3 separate regions of the Homo sapiens genome follow, and all the other regions are linked to region 1. Evidence: promoter capture Hi-C in human tissues and cell types (Jung and others, 2019). All regions are on one chromosome and are shown on one strand. The core of a region is centred on a gene start or on the middle of the fragment in contact, and the rest is flanking DNA. Distances in the headings are between cores, read along the strand shown. Region 1 has its middle 36 kb from the start of NORAD. Region 2 holds the start of NFS1 (NFS1 cysteine desulfurase). Region 3 holds the start of PHF20 (PHD finger protein 20).

Region 1 (4,238 bases), core at 928-3,427:
TACAAAATTAGCCAGGCGTGGTGGCGCACTCCTGTAATCCCAGCTACTCGGGCGGCTGAGGCAGGAGAATCCCTTGAATCCAGGAGGCGGAGGTTGCAGTGAGCCAAAATCACACCACGGCACTCCAGCATGGACAACAAGAGTGAGACCCCGTCTCAAAAAAAAAAAAAAAAAAGTTGGGCCAGCTCTGCCCTAGATGGATCACAGCTGGACCACCAAGCTCATTTGTGAGCCCCATATTCTTAGGGGGACTGGAGCATGTCTACAGGAGACCGGAACGTAGAGGACCTGGACGCCATGCTGTATGATGAATGATTTAAATAGCTTGGAGAAGGGAAAGCACAGAGTAGACATGGTGACTATCTCCACACCTCTGAAGGACTATCATACAGAAAGAGGATTTGCTTTGTTTCCTTTCGTTTAGGTCTAATCAACAAAACAAAAAATTCTGCATTAGCAAACTCCTAGGCCACCCTCTCTGAGGGAAGGATCCATATCAAATTTATATGCTGTTCTCCTCAGCACCTAGTCCATCCAGGACCTGGTTCCTATGAAACAATGACTACAGATTTGCTGCCAGAATGGATACGAAAGAATTCCATTGGCCAGGTGCTGTGGCTCACGCCTGTAATCCCAACACTTTGGAAGGTCGAGCAGGTGGATCACCTGAGGTCAGGAGTTCGAGACCAGCCTCGCCAACATGGTGAAACCCCGTCTCTACTAAAATACAAAATTAGCTGGGCGTGGTGGCACATGCCTGTAATCCCAACTATTTGGGAGGCTGAATGTCTTGAATCTGGGAGGTGGAGGTTGCAGTGAGCCAAGATCACACCACTGCGCTCCAGCCTAGGCAGCAAGAGTGAAACTCTGTCTAAAAAAAAAAAAAAACAAAAAGGGGCCAAGTGTGATGGCTCACACCTGTAATCCCAGCACTTTGGGAGGCCGAGGCAGGCAGATCACCTGAGGCCAGGAGTTTGAGACCAACCTGGCCAGCATGGTGAAACCCTGTCTCTACTAACAACACAAAAAAATTAGCCAGGCTTGGTGGCTCATGCCTGTAAGTCCCAGCTACTCGGGAGGCTGAGACATGAGAATTGCTGAACCTGGGAGGCGGAGGTTGCAGTGAGCTGAGATTGTACCACTGCACTCTAGCCTGGGCAACACAGTGAGACTCGGTCTCAAAAAAAAAAAAAAAAAAAAGAGAATTCCATCACATCACCTCCAGTGGGGGGATATCCAGGAAGACAATTTCAGCTCACTATAAAGAACTCCCTAACAGTTGGAGCTACCCAAGAATGGAATGGACCACCTTGGGAGTGATGAACTCCTTGTCAATATATGTATTCAAGGAAAGATTAAGTCTTCATTGGGAAATTGAACTAGGATCCTGGTGACCTCTCAAGTTGAAAAAATGGGCAAGTTCTATTAGGAAGGGAAAGACAAGATCAAAGCTGTGCTTCCAGACAATTATGTGACTGTATGTGTAGAAGAAATGGGTGGGGAGGGATCAGAGGCAGGCAGGACCAGTAGGAAACCACTGCAGTGGTCCAGGAGATAAAAGAATAGACTGGGGCTGGGCACGGTGATTCATGCCTGTAATCCCAGCACTTTGGGAGGCCGAGGAGGGTGGATCACAAGGTCAGGAGTTCAAGACCAGCCTGGCAAACATGGTGAAACCCTGTCTCTACTAAAAATACAAAAAAATTAGCCAGGCATGGTGGTGGGTGCCTGTAATCCCAGCCACTTGGGAGGCTGAGGCAGAGAATTGCTTGAACCCGGGAGGCGGAGGTTGCAGTGAGCCGAGATCACACCACTGCACTCCAGCCTGGGCGACAGAGCGAAACTCGTCTCAAAACAAAACAAAACAAAACAAAAAACAAAAAAAAAGAATAGACTGGGAGGCCATGGGAATGGAAAGCCAATGCAAGTGTGACTTGAAAGAGGCACTGGCACTAGGCTGGTAGTCAGGAGCTGCAGGTTCTAGTCCTGCCCCTGCCATTAACTTATTGTGTAGTCTCAGGTAAATCCCAGCCCTTGAGTAGATCCCTTCCTTTATTCAAATTTCAGAGATCCCATCTGTAAAATGCAGAATGATCTGCAATATCCTTCCTAACTCTGGATTCTGTGAATGGGAGAGAGATAATGAAGGATAACTGGGATGATGTATTAGAAAGCCTTCATACACTTCAAAGTAATAATATCATTAGTACAAGTACCATTGTTATTATTATTTCAAAGGCAGCCTCACCAGAACGTGGTGACTGGACTGGTAGGAGGGGACAGGACAGAGTCAAGTGGCCTGCATCTGTGGGTGGACAAGACACCAGGATCTCTGATCTTTTGGGAAGGTCAGCTAACCACTGTATCCCTCCCCCAAGATCTGTGAAGACAAACAGTATTCTGTGCCCTGTCACCTCATTAACTGCTTCCTCATTCCTTTGAGCCACACCTTATACTTGGCTAAAAGAAGCAACCAATTCTAAGAAAAGTTAGCCTCTGTACTCCCTCCTTTCAATGTTCAAAAATGGGTCCTCGTCTGGGACTTTCCCTATATAATAATAAGTTTCATCATCTCATATAGGAATAGCCAACATTATTGAGTACTTAGTATATGTTAGGAAATTTATTTACATAATTTTCTCACCCTGGGAGGTAGCTGTAATGGCTTATGAAGATCTATAACTTTCTCAGTCACATAGCTTATGAGAAGGATTCCAGTACAAGTCTGTGCGATTTCAAGGCTGCATTCTTAAAGATTTTTTTTTTTTTTTTTTTTTGAAATGGAGTCTTGCTCCATCACCCTGGCTGGAGTGCAGTAGCACTATCTTTGCCCACTGCAACCTCCATCTCCCGGGTTCAAGCGATTCTCATGTCTCAGCCTCCCAAGTAGCTGGGATTACAGGTGCCTGCCACCATGCCTGGCTAATTTTTGTATTTTTAGTAGAGATGGGGTTTCACCATGTTGGCCAGGCTGGTCTCGAACTCTTAACCTCAGGTGATCTGCCTGCCTCAGCCTCCCAAAGTGCTGAGATTACAGCCGTGAGCCACCCTGCCCGGCACCCTAAAGATTTTTACTATGTCTTTTTGTAGCAACTTAGGGAGGAGGGCAAGATCAGTGTTGTTGCCACTTTATAGCTGGGGAAACTGAAGCTCAGAGAAGGTAAATTCTGTCATTTGGACAAATTAGTAAAGTCTTCTATGGTGCAGTTTGGTGCTGTTTCTACTTCTCAGAGCTTCCTCCTCTGCACCTTCCAGGACCTCCCCAGTCCTCCTAGGAGTGATGAGTAGAGACTTGCCCAGACTACTTAAGGGAAGGACTTACACTTGTCCTTCTCCTGGGGAAGGGAAAGGTTCCTGAAAGGTGAAAGTTAATTTCCACCTCCCCTCCCCACCCACCAACTCACACACCCTAAACCAGGACCTTGTGGTGACCCGCGCTGAAGGCTTACAGAGTGAGTCATGCGGGGCTGACCTGTCAGAGTCACCCAAGCACAAGATACTAAGCTTAGTTTAGAGGGGTGGAAAAGTAGGCAAAGTGCTCTCATCCTCAGGAGCACAGTCCACTTGCAGCTTGTGCCCCTCACTCCTTTCATCCCAAAATACTGCAAACATTTGGGAACACTGTACAAGGGCCTTAGAGCAGAGGGAACACATGACAAATAAGAGTGAGTCCAAGGAGTTGAGATTGGAGTGGAGCCTTAAAGAGTGAATTCAGCACACAAATTAGGTAGAAGGGCCCTCCAGGCTGCAGGAATGCCCTAAAGCTTAAATATATTTGGATTCCATCTAACAGGCAGTAGGGAGCCATGGAGTTCACTATGGCTTTGGAGACTGTCTGAGTTTGAATCTGCCTCTGTCCCTTCCCAGTGGTTTGATCTTGGGAAAGTTACTCAACCCCTGTGGTTGACGTATTATTTTTCTCCATTATTTGCCCTTCCCTTGGCCAGTAAGAGAATTATCCATCCTAGCCAGTTGCCATGTGACTTGTGTACCTTCCAGAGGAAGGAGTGCACTTCCCCAGCCCATTGTCAAGCTTAACCACATGACTTCCTTTGGCCAATGAAATGTGAGCTAGAGAGATACATGCCAGTTCGAAGCAGAAACTTGGAGTGCCATTGCATGTTTGAGTCTGAAATCTTACTTTTTTATCTCTGCCACTGGAAATGTTGTGTCTTGGATAGGGCCTGCACCTTCAGCCTGGACCCTGGAATGAAAAGACACAGAGCAAAGCTGCAGTG
Region 2 (4,238 bases), core at 776-3,275, 390 kb after region 1:
AGAAGTTGCGGTAAGCCGAGATCGTGCCACTGCACTCCAACCTGGGCGACCAAGGAAACAACCAACCTCAGGATGAACATTGCTTTGGAAATAATGCAATGTGTGACCTTGAGGAAATTTCGGCTTATAAATCCATTTTTTGAAGTAGTTTTTCTCCTTTAAAATGGTGACCGTAGTAACAAGCACAGAGTTGTACTGAGTAATTAGTTGAATAGTATCTATGGAAAATACTAGACACTCCCAAGTTTTCCAATTTTGGATTAAGAGAGGCAGGCCTTGTGAAAGAGATACTAACCCTAGTCATTACGTTAGTCCATCTCTTTAGTGCAGAAGATCCTTGGCAAAGCTGGATAATAGGCTGAGAGAAGAATATTCCTTTAAGAGAGGGACACTGACTACTCAAAGACTTTCTTTTATTAGTACATGGGCTGGGATTGATGGGAAGGGACAGATGTAGTTGGCAACCATGGTTAGCATCGGATGCCCATCCCAATGGCCATGAATGTGCCAAAGGTGCCGCCACTCTGCATCATGGTTTTCCCAATGCCGCCCATCAGCTCTCGACCCCGCATTCCGATCCTGAGGAGGAAACCAAGATGGAGCTATTTGGTAACAAAAATATCAGAAAGAGTATTAACTGCTCCTTTCCAATTTTTTGCTAACACTAGTCTAGCAACCCCTACATCTGATTTTCCACTTACTGGATATTATATCTTACTACCTGGGGTGGGTAATGAGAAGGAAAAAGATCCATCTGGGTCTCCAGGGTATTTTTCTGGTGGATGTCGTATTAACTGCCTTCAGTTTGTGGGAGGCAGCAGATGCAGTGTAAAATACATAGAGAAACCAGCTTTTTTGACTGGTGTTGCCTGCAGTTTAAGACCCAATAAAGACATCTGTCTTTTAGTTTCTTGGTGTTAATGATTTTGGAGTAAGGTGGGGGTTCAAGAGTCAGCTCTACAATTTACACATAGTGTCAAGTGTAAAATGGGCATCTCAACATTATTTACAGGATTTTGAAAACTACAGTATTTAGCACAGTGCTTAACATAGAGTAAGTGCTCTGTAAATGATAATTTACAATCTAGGGATATGGCAATAACAGCCTCTAAATGTGAAAATGACCTTTAGAGTGTAAAGTTTAACTGCTTTATCTCTGTATCCTGTATCCAGAATAGTAAAACCGCTGAACGAGTTTCTTTCCTTATGCGCAATTGGAAAAAAAAATAAAAGCAACAGTAGTAACTAGTTACTGAGCACTTAATATGTGCCAGATGCTGTGCAAAGTGTGCTGATCGAATTTTTACAACTCTATAAGTTAGATGCTACTGTCTTCATTCTACACTTAAGGAAACCCAGTCTCCAACTTGCCTAAAGTCACCGAACCAGTAAGAAAAGGGCCAGAAAGCATTTTGACTCTAAAGCTCAAATTCTTAAGCACTGACGCTTCCAACCTGACTTTACAGATTGAAGGTGGTTTGGAATGAGTCTGGCTCGCGAGGGGACAGAGAGGGAAGTCGAAAGAAGGAGGCTGTGTTCAGGCTCCAGGCCGAATGGGGCAGGGCCGGAAGGTCTGGTTGTCCTGCCCAGAGATCACCGCCCGCGCCCCTCACCTGAGACAGGAAAAGGTGCCGAAGAGCGCCCCGGCCGCCATGCCCACGGCGCAACCCATCACGAAGCCCATTTTGACACGGTCGAAGCAGCTTGGCTGGGACTGTCCGTAGGGACCCACGGCCACCGGCATCTGCGGGGGATAGGAAAGTGTGGGCCCAGGCGCTGGCCCAAGAGTCGGGCGGGGACGGAAGCGGTAGGCTGGGAAGTGGGCCCAAGGGCTCAGGGGAAGTAAGGGAAGGAAAATCAGTGGGTAGCCCGACTCCACCACCCTCTTCGCGTTCCGGCCCCGCGTCGCCCGGCGCCTACCTCACCTCGCTCGCGGGCTGGGTCGCTCAGCTCTACGTCTCTCACGGAAAACGACGGGGAGGGCGCTCGCGGCCCGATGAATCGCTTCCGGAGCGCCGGGCAGCACTTCCGGGAGCCTGGGGCCCAGGACTGCAGCGGCTTCGGAAGGTGGGCTCTGCCAGCGGGACCATGCTGCTCCGAGCCGCTTGGAGGCGGGCGGCAGTGGCGGTGACAGCGGCTCCAGGGCCGAAGCCCGCGGCGCCCACTCGGGGGCTGCGCCTGCGCGGTACGCTCGGGTCCCGCTCTCCGGGAGGCGCGGACCTGTCCCCTCCGCGCGGCGACGCAACTGAATATTCCGGAGCCTTCCTGTCCACCCTGCTGCCCAGACCCTCTGACCCTTCTCTCAAATGACACATCCCTCAAACTTTCTTAGGCGGGTCCCCGAACGGTTGACCCCGGCGCACCACCCCTCGCACCCTGCGCGACAGGCCCCCAGAGCCGTGGAGGCGCGTCCTTCAGACCGCTCCTGGCCAAGTTACAGATGCTGCTCCGGGCTCCCGTGCAGACCGTTACCTTCGGTCAGAAGGGACTGCACCTACTCTGGCTCCACGTTCCTTCTAAACGTCTTTGCCCTTTAGAGCCTTCCTTCCTACGATACCATTTGAATATCAACTCAACACCCCCTCCAGGAACCCTCTCTCCCTCTCCCTTACCTCCTTTTACAGCGTGTCAGGTATCTGGTGTTGTTTTCTTTCCATTGAGATTCGACCCTAGCATCCCTTACACTTATCTCACCTCCAGCCAGATTTTTCCTTCTGCCCTTTGGATGCCATGCGTTCATAGTTGCCTTCGGTCTTACTTGGCTACTCCGTTCCATTTTTTATCAGTTGGAGACCGTGCTCCTCAGTCTGCGGTTCCCGCAGATACAGCCGCTGCCCCGGAGGTGGGGCCAGTGCTGCGACCTCTCTATATGGATGTGCAAGCTACAACTCCTCTGGTAAGGATGAAGCTTTTCCCAAGGCTGCTTATAGGAAGTAAATGATGGGCGTGATCACGCAAAGAAATGGCTGAATCCCTGGAGAAGTGAGAGCCGTGAAGGTGTGCTGGAAAAAGCACTGAGCGAGGAGTCGGGAGGCTTAAATTCGAGGCCACTGGCATTGGCTTTACTACTCACTAGCAATTGACCTTGGTCAGATCACTTCAGCGCAGGCTCTATAGTATTAGTTAAAAGCATGGGCTCTGGAATGAGCAGAACGGCCACTTAGTAACTGTGTGAACTTGGACAAGTATTAAACGGGTTAAAAGACTAATGCAAGTTTTCACCAATGTGTGACCAGGGGTGTTTGCCTAGGCCCTGTCCTGTCCCAGCCCCTTATAGATCACATTACCTGGCAGGAATGGAAACACCAGCAGAAACAGATGTCGGAACAAGGCAGTGTTTGTAGACTACCTGAGGGGAGGCAGAACAATCCGAGTTGGGATGGGTTGTGAGTGGGAGTGTATTAGGTTGATATTTGGTGGGTAGTTTTGTGGGAACAAAAGAATGTTTGAGGCCTCCTCTAGGCAGTGCCTGAGGGGTTGAGAGTGTCTTAAGGCAGGGTGGCCAGGTCTGAGGGGTGGAGTGGGACCTGAATTGACGATGCGCTCAAGGAAAATGATCTGTTCTGTTGTGTTCAGGACCCCCGGGTGCTTGATGCCATGCTCCCTTACCTAATCAACTACTATGGGAACCCACACTCCCGGACACATGCTTATGGCTGGGAGAGTGAGGCAGCCATGGAACGTGCTCGTCAGGTTAGTACACAGGAGTCTAGGAGGTTCTAAGGTCAAAGAGGGGCAGTGGCCTGTGGGAGGCATTTCTTTCTTGGTAGGTGTGCATGGAGGTAGAAATGGTTTTGGATTCTTTCTGGAAGAGATTCAAAGAGCAGCCTTGGAGTTTGACTGCAGGCATTTGATTGGTTCCCATATTTCCTGGCTAAATGACTTGGGCAAGTTATCTAATTTCTTTGAGCCTTATTTTCCTCATTTAAAACAGAGATTGTGGTAGTTTCTACTCTGTAGGGTTACTGGGTGGATTAAATAAGACAATGCTGATAAAGTGTTTATTACCACAACATCTGTAAGTAAGAAGTACTATAAATAGTAAGAGCTCAATAGTTCTTTTTTTTTTTTTTTATGAGATGGAGTTTTCACATTTGTTGCCCAGACTGGAGTGCAGTGGCGCACGATCTTGGCTCACTGCAACCTCTGCCTCCCGGGTTCAAGTGATTCTGCTGCCTCAGCCTCCCAAGTAATTGGGATTACAGGCACACGCCACCATGCCTAGCTAATATTTTTGT
Region 3 (4,238 bases), core at 1,010-3,509, 320 kb after region 1:
GTCTCTACTAAAAACAAAAAAATTAGACGGGCGCGGTGTGGTGGGTGCCTGTAGTCCCAGCTGCTCGGGAGGCTGAGGCAGGAGAATGTCGTGAACCCGGGAGGCGGAGCTTGCACTGAGCCGAGATCGCGCCACTGCACTCCAGCCTGGGCGACAGAGCGAGACTCTGTCTCAAAAAAAAAAAAAGAAGATTGACAAGAGGATGATTGGGAGAGAAAAATATCCATTTCCCCACCGACACCCCAGGGACAAGAACAAAAAGAGTATCCAAGGGATTCCTCCAAACGACATCTTTTCTTCATAAAAGATAGTAAGAAAGCCAATATAGGGAAGAAGTTTATGGGCTAGAAGCAGTGCTGGAAAAATCTGAGAGTTTTGTTTGTTTTTGTTTTCCAGCACAAGGAGATAAAGCAAAGGAGAAAACAGTATGCACCTAAACAGAATCTTAGGTCTTCTAGAAGTAAACCACCAGGAGGATTCAGAGTCCTGTGATTAACCAAAGAAATGGTTTCCACTTTGAATCCAGCGCTGGGGGCCCAGGCAGTCCTAGACTTGAGGCCACCTCCAGCACAAGGAAAATCTTTATAGCCACTAGGTAAACAGAACAATTCCAAAGAAAGACAGAAACCAGAAAAATGTTTGGGGATTGGGCAAGCCAAGAGAGAAGAGATCCTGCTAGCGGAAAGATAAAAGATAGGCCTATCAAAAACAATGTGCTGGTAGCCCTTTAGGAGAGGAATCCTTCCCTGGGAGGAGAGGAGAATTCAGGAGGTGTGACTCTGGGAAGTGTGCTCAGAAGAAAAGCCCGCAGAAGCACAGAGAAAAGTGCCGTGCTGAACAAAGATACGCACTCGCCAGAGGAAGAGGAAATGGGTGCACTGACCAGACTGGGGAAAGCACCTCAAGGGGAGTGTGGCTCCAAAAAGGGAAGGAAACTGAGGAATGAAAATGTCTTGGATGACAGAAAAGCTAAACAGGGTAGGAAGGCATGCTCAAAACCACAGACCACTCGCCACCTGGAAATGAGAGGACTCACAAAAAGGTGTGCCCCCCAAATTTAAGAAGCATCTGGAAAGTGGCTGCACTCTGAGAGTTGTATAACTAAAAGGGGTTCACCTCGTACATTTGGGGGGCACAAGAAACAAATATACTCCCAGATATGAAAATGAGTCTCCTTCAGGAAATAAGGTAGTTTGATTTGGGGAACACGTGAAAAGTGTGTAACCCCAATAATACAGTCTCGGGAGAAGGCAGTGAATTCCCTTATTTGTGAAACTGGAAATAAGTACCCATAAACTTCAAAATTTGGACATTGTTTTCGGCCCAACCTCAGGTTTGAAGGGCTGAGGAAAGGAAGTGGCCCCTAAATGTAAGAAATTCCAGAAGGCATGCTGTCAGATTTGGGACCTGGAAAAGGGGAATTCTTCCTTGGAGTAGAGGGGATACAAGAAAGTATCCCAAAACTTTAGCTAATGGACCCCAGATCTGAGGACCCGATAACAGGGTGAACCTCTAAATTGGAACGGAAATGCAGAATCAAATTGGAGGCCCGAAAAAAGGAATGTGCTCCCACTTTGGGGGCTGACGGAAGAGGGTACGCCCTAAATTTGGGGGGGGGAGGGCTTTTAGAAATTTAGATAAAATTCCAGAGCTAGAGCTTAAGAAAGGGGGTGTGCCGCCCAGTTTTCAAAACTATAGAGAAAAGGGACACTCCCATATTTGGGGTCTTGAGAAAGGAATGTGCTCCCCAGAATAGGATAAAAAAAGCCAATTTTAAAAAACATATTCCCAAAGCGCAAGGCAATAGCAGAGGCTGCTGATGAGGCTCTAGGTGCCCACACAGCTCAGGCTCGGGCCCTAGGGCTTACCCGCACCCCCAACACGGCCCGCTCCGCGCCCCGGGCCCGCACCCCACGGCCCAGCCCCCTCGGGCGGCGCTGATTGGCGGCAGCCGCCGCCACTCTTGCGGGTAGCCCCGGGGATTGGGCACCGCTCGCACGCCCGCCACGCTCTCAGCAGCAGTCCCAGGGCCTCCCTCCAGGCTGGGCGAGCGGGGCCAGGCGGGGAGCGGGGCCGGGCAGGGGACCGAAGCAGCGGTGGCGTCCGTCGCCGTCCCCGCCCGCACGGCGCGCGCGCAGCGCGGGCCCGGCCCAACCCGGCCCGGCCGGCCGGCTTCGCCTGGCCGCGAGCTCACCTCACGGCCCCACTCCGGCTGCGCCGCTCCAGGACCAACCGACAGAAGGACTCTGCGTGCTCTGCACCACGTGACCCCCGGGACGCGCCCAGCGTATGCCCCGCCCCCCACACACACGCATCATCGCCACCACCGAGTGACGTAAGGTCCCAGCTGCCCCGCCCCCTGCCCCGTCTGCCCGATCACTGTGGCAACGGCCTGCGCAGGCCACGCCCACTACCCTGACGCGCGGGAAACAGGCCCGCGCCCTAGCAGGAACACGAAGTCCCCACTCACTCGTAATCACTGAGATCACCGAAGCCGGGGAATGGACGCTATCCATCACCCGTTAATTTTGCCACCTAAATGCGTCTCAAAGCTTCCCATTTCTCCATCGAAGCGACCACCATCTCTCTCCAAGATGAAGATGGTTTCCACCCTATTACTCTTCGCCGTTCTAATCCATTCTTCGTACACCGGCAGAGAGGTCTTTTCAAAACGCCATCCCCTGCTCAAAGCTCGTTTCCCTCCCTACTCCGGATTAAGATCTAACTCTTCACCTAGACTATCTACCAGGCTCTTCAAAGTCTGGACCTGACCTGCTGCTTTCTTATCCTCACGAATCCAGCTCCCCCACATTCTCAGTGTCCTTCAACTCCGCTAACAATCCAGGTTCTTCTCATCTCAGAGCCTTTGCACTCATTTCTCCCCCACTTTATCATTAACTCCTAGAAAGGTTTCCAATTGCTGCTAAGGATAAGGAGCTGTATTTTCTCTGGGGACGAAGGTCGGAGTTGAAGCCACCCCAAAAGAATATGAGACCAGGAGCAGTGGCTCACGCCTGTAATCCCAACACTATGAGAGGCTGAGGTGGGTAGATCACTTGAGCTCAGGAGTTCGAGACCAGCCTGGGCAACATAGCTAGACCCCCGTCTCTCCAAGAAATACAACAATTAGCCAGGCGTGAACGTGCGCACCTGTGGTCCCAGCTCAACCTTCTGAGTAGCTGGGACTGCAGGCCCATGCCACCATGCCTAGCTAATTTTTTTTTTTTTTTGAGACACGGTCTCACTGTGTCACCCAGGCTGGAGTGCAGTGGCGCAGTCTCGGCTCCTCATAACCTCCACCTCCTAGGCCCAAGCAATTCTCCCACCTCAGTCTCCCAGATAGCTGGAACCACAGGTGTGCACCTGGCTAATTTTTGCATTTTTTTGTAGAGACGCAGTTTCACGATGTTGCCCAGGCTGGTCTTGAATTCCTGGGCTCAAGCAGTCCACCCACCTCAGCCTCCCAGAGTGCTGGAATTAACACCGTACTTGGCCACTTTTTTTTTTTTTTTTTGAGATAGAGTCTCGCTCTGTAGCCCAGACGGGAGTGCAGTGGTGCGATCTTGGCTCACTGCAACCTCTGCCTCCCGGGTTCAAGCAATTCTTTGCCTCAGCCTCCCAAGTAGCTGGGATTACAGGCGCACGCCGCCACGCCCAGCTAATTTTTTATATTTTTTTTAGTAGAGACGGGTTTTCACCATCTTGGCCAGGCTGGTCTTGAACTCCTGACCTCATGATCCGCGCGCCTCGGCCTCCTAAAATACTGCGATTACAAGCGTGAGCCACCGTGCCCGGCCGAGTTTTTTTTTTTTTTTTTTTAGAGACAGGGTCTCACTTTGTTGACCAGGCTGGTCTCAAACTCCTTGGCTCAAGTGATCCTCCTGCCTCAGCCTCCAGAAATGCTGGAATTACAGGCCTCAGCCAGCAAATCCAGCCTGAGGGGTGCTTTTTAAACCAGGGCTGGAAACTAAGGAGGGTATTGCCTCAGTTGAGGTAGTCAGGGCAAAGAGCAGCCCTTAGGTAGAGACACTGTGGAACCAGGGACAAAAGCTTCAGCTACACTTGCTTGGGCAGTACATGTATTCTATTAAAATTGTAACATGGCTGGGCGCGGTGGCTCACGCATGTAATCCCAGCACTTTGGGAGGCCAAGACGGGCAGATTACCTGAGGTGAGGAGTTCGAGACCAGCCTGGCCAACATGGTGAAACCCTCTCTCTACTAAAAATGCAAAAATTA

The links. The method cuts DNA at HindIII sites, captures the fragments that hold promoters and counts their contacts. A contact is called where the count stands out against the background at its distance.
Region 2: a contact is called between the fragment with the promoter of NFS1 here and a fragment that was not itself captured in region 1, in 3 of the 25 tissues and cell types used here (aorta, dorsolateral prefrontal cortex and mesendoderm cells).
Region 3: a contact is called between the fragment with the promoter of PHF20 here and a fragment that was not itself captured in region 1, in 1 of the 25 tissues and cell types used here (dorsolateral prefrontal cortex).

The regions. Positions count from the first base shown.
Region 1 is chr20:36,085,145-36,089,382 of GRCh38, reverse strand. No RefSeq gene overlaps it. Among named protein-coding and RNA genes, the nearest start is that of NORAD, 36 kb to the right of the region's middle. The HindIII fragment of the contact is 7,451 bases long and covers 1-4,238 here.
Region 2 is chr20:35,697,139-35,701,376 of GRCh38, reverse strand. It overlaps NFS1 (NFS1 cysteine desulfurase), which reads left to right and starts at 2,025. Exons shown (of 13, transcript NM_021100.5): 1 at 2,025-2,185; 2 at 2,787-2,896; 3 at 3,577-3,693. The coding sequence starts at 2,089. It overlaps ROMO1 (reactive oxygen species modulator 1), which reads right to left and starts at 1,972. Exons shown (of 3, transcript NM_080748.3): 1 at 1,921-1,972; 2 at 1,614-1,744; 3 at 397-579. The coding sequence starts at 1,744. The coding sequence ends at 471. RBM39 (RNA binding motif protein 39) reads left to right here. Exons shown (of 17, transcript NM_184234.3): 17 at 1-30. RefSeq lists enhancers at 1,348-1,567, 1,139-1,798, 1,799-2,458 and a silencer at 2,058-2,247. The HindIII fragment of the contact is 14,345 bases long and covers 1-4,238 here.
Region 3 is chr20:35,770,036-35,774,273 of GRCh38, reverse strand. It overlaps PHF20 (PHD finger protein 20), which reads right to left and starts at 2,259. Exons shown (of 18, transcript NM_016436.5): 1 at 2,195-2,259. RefSeq lists silencers at 513-807, 1,812-2,191. The HindIII fragment of the contact is 9,618 bases long and covers 1-3,301 here.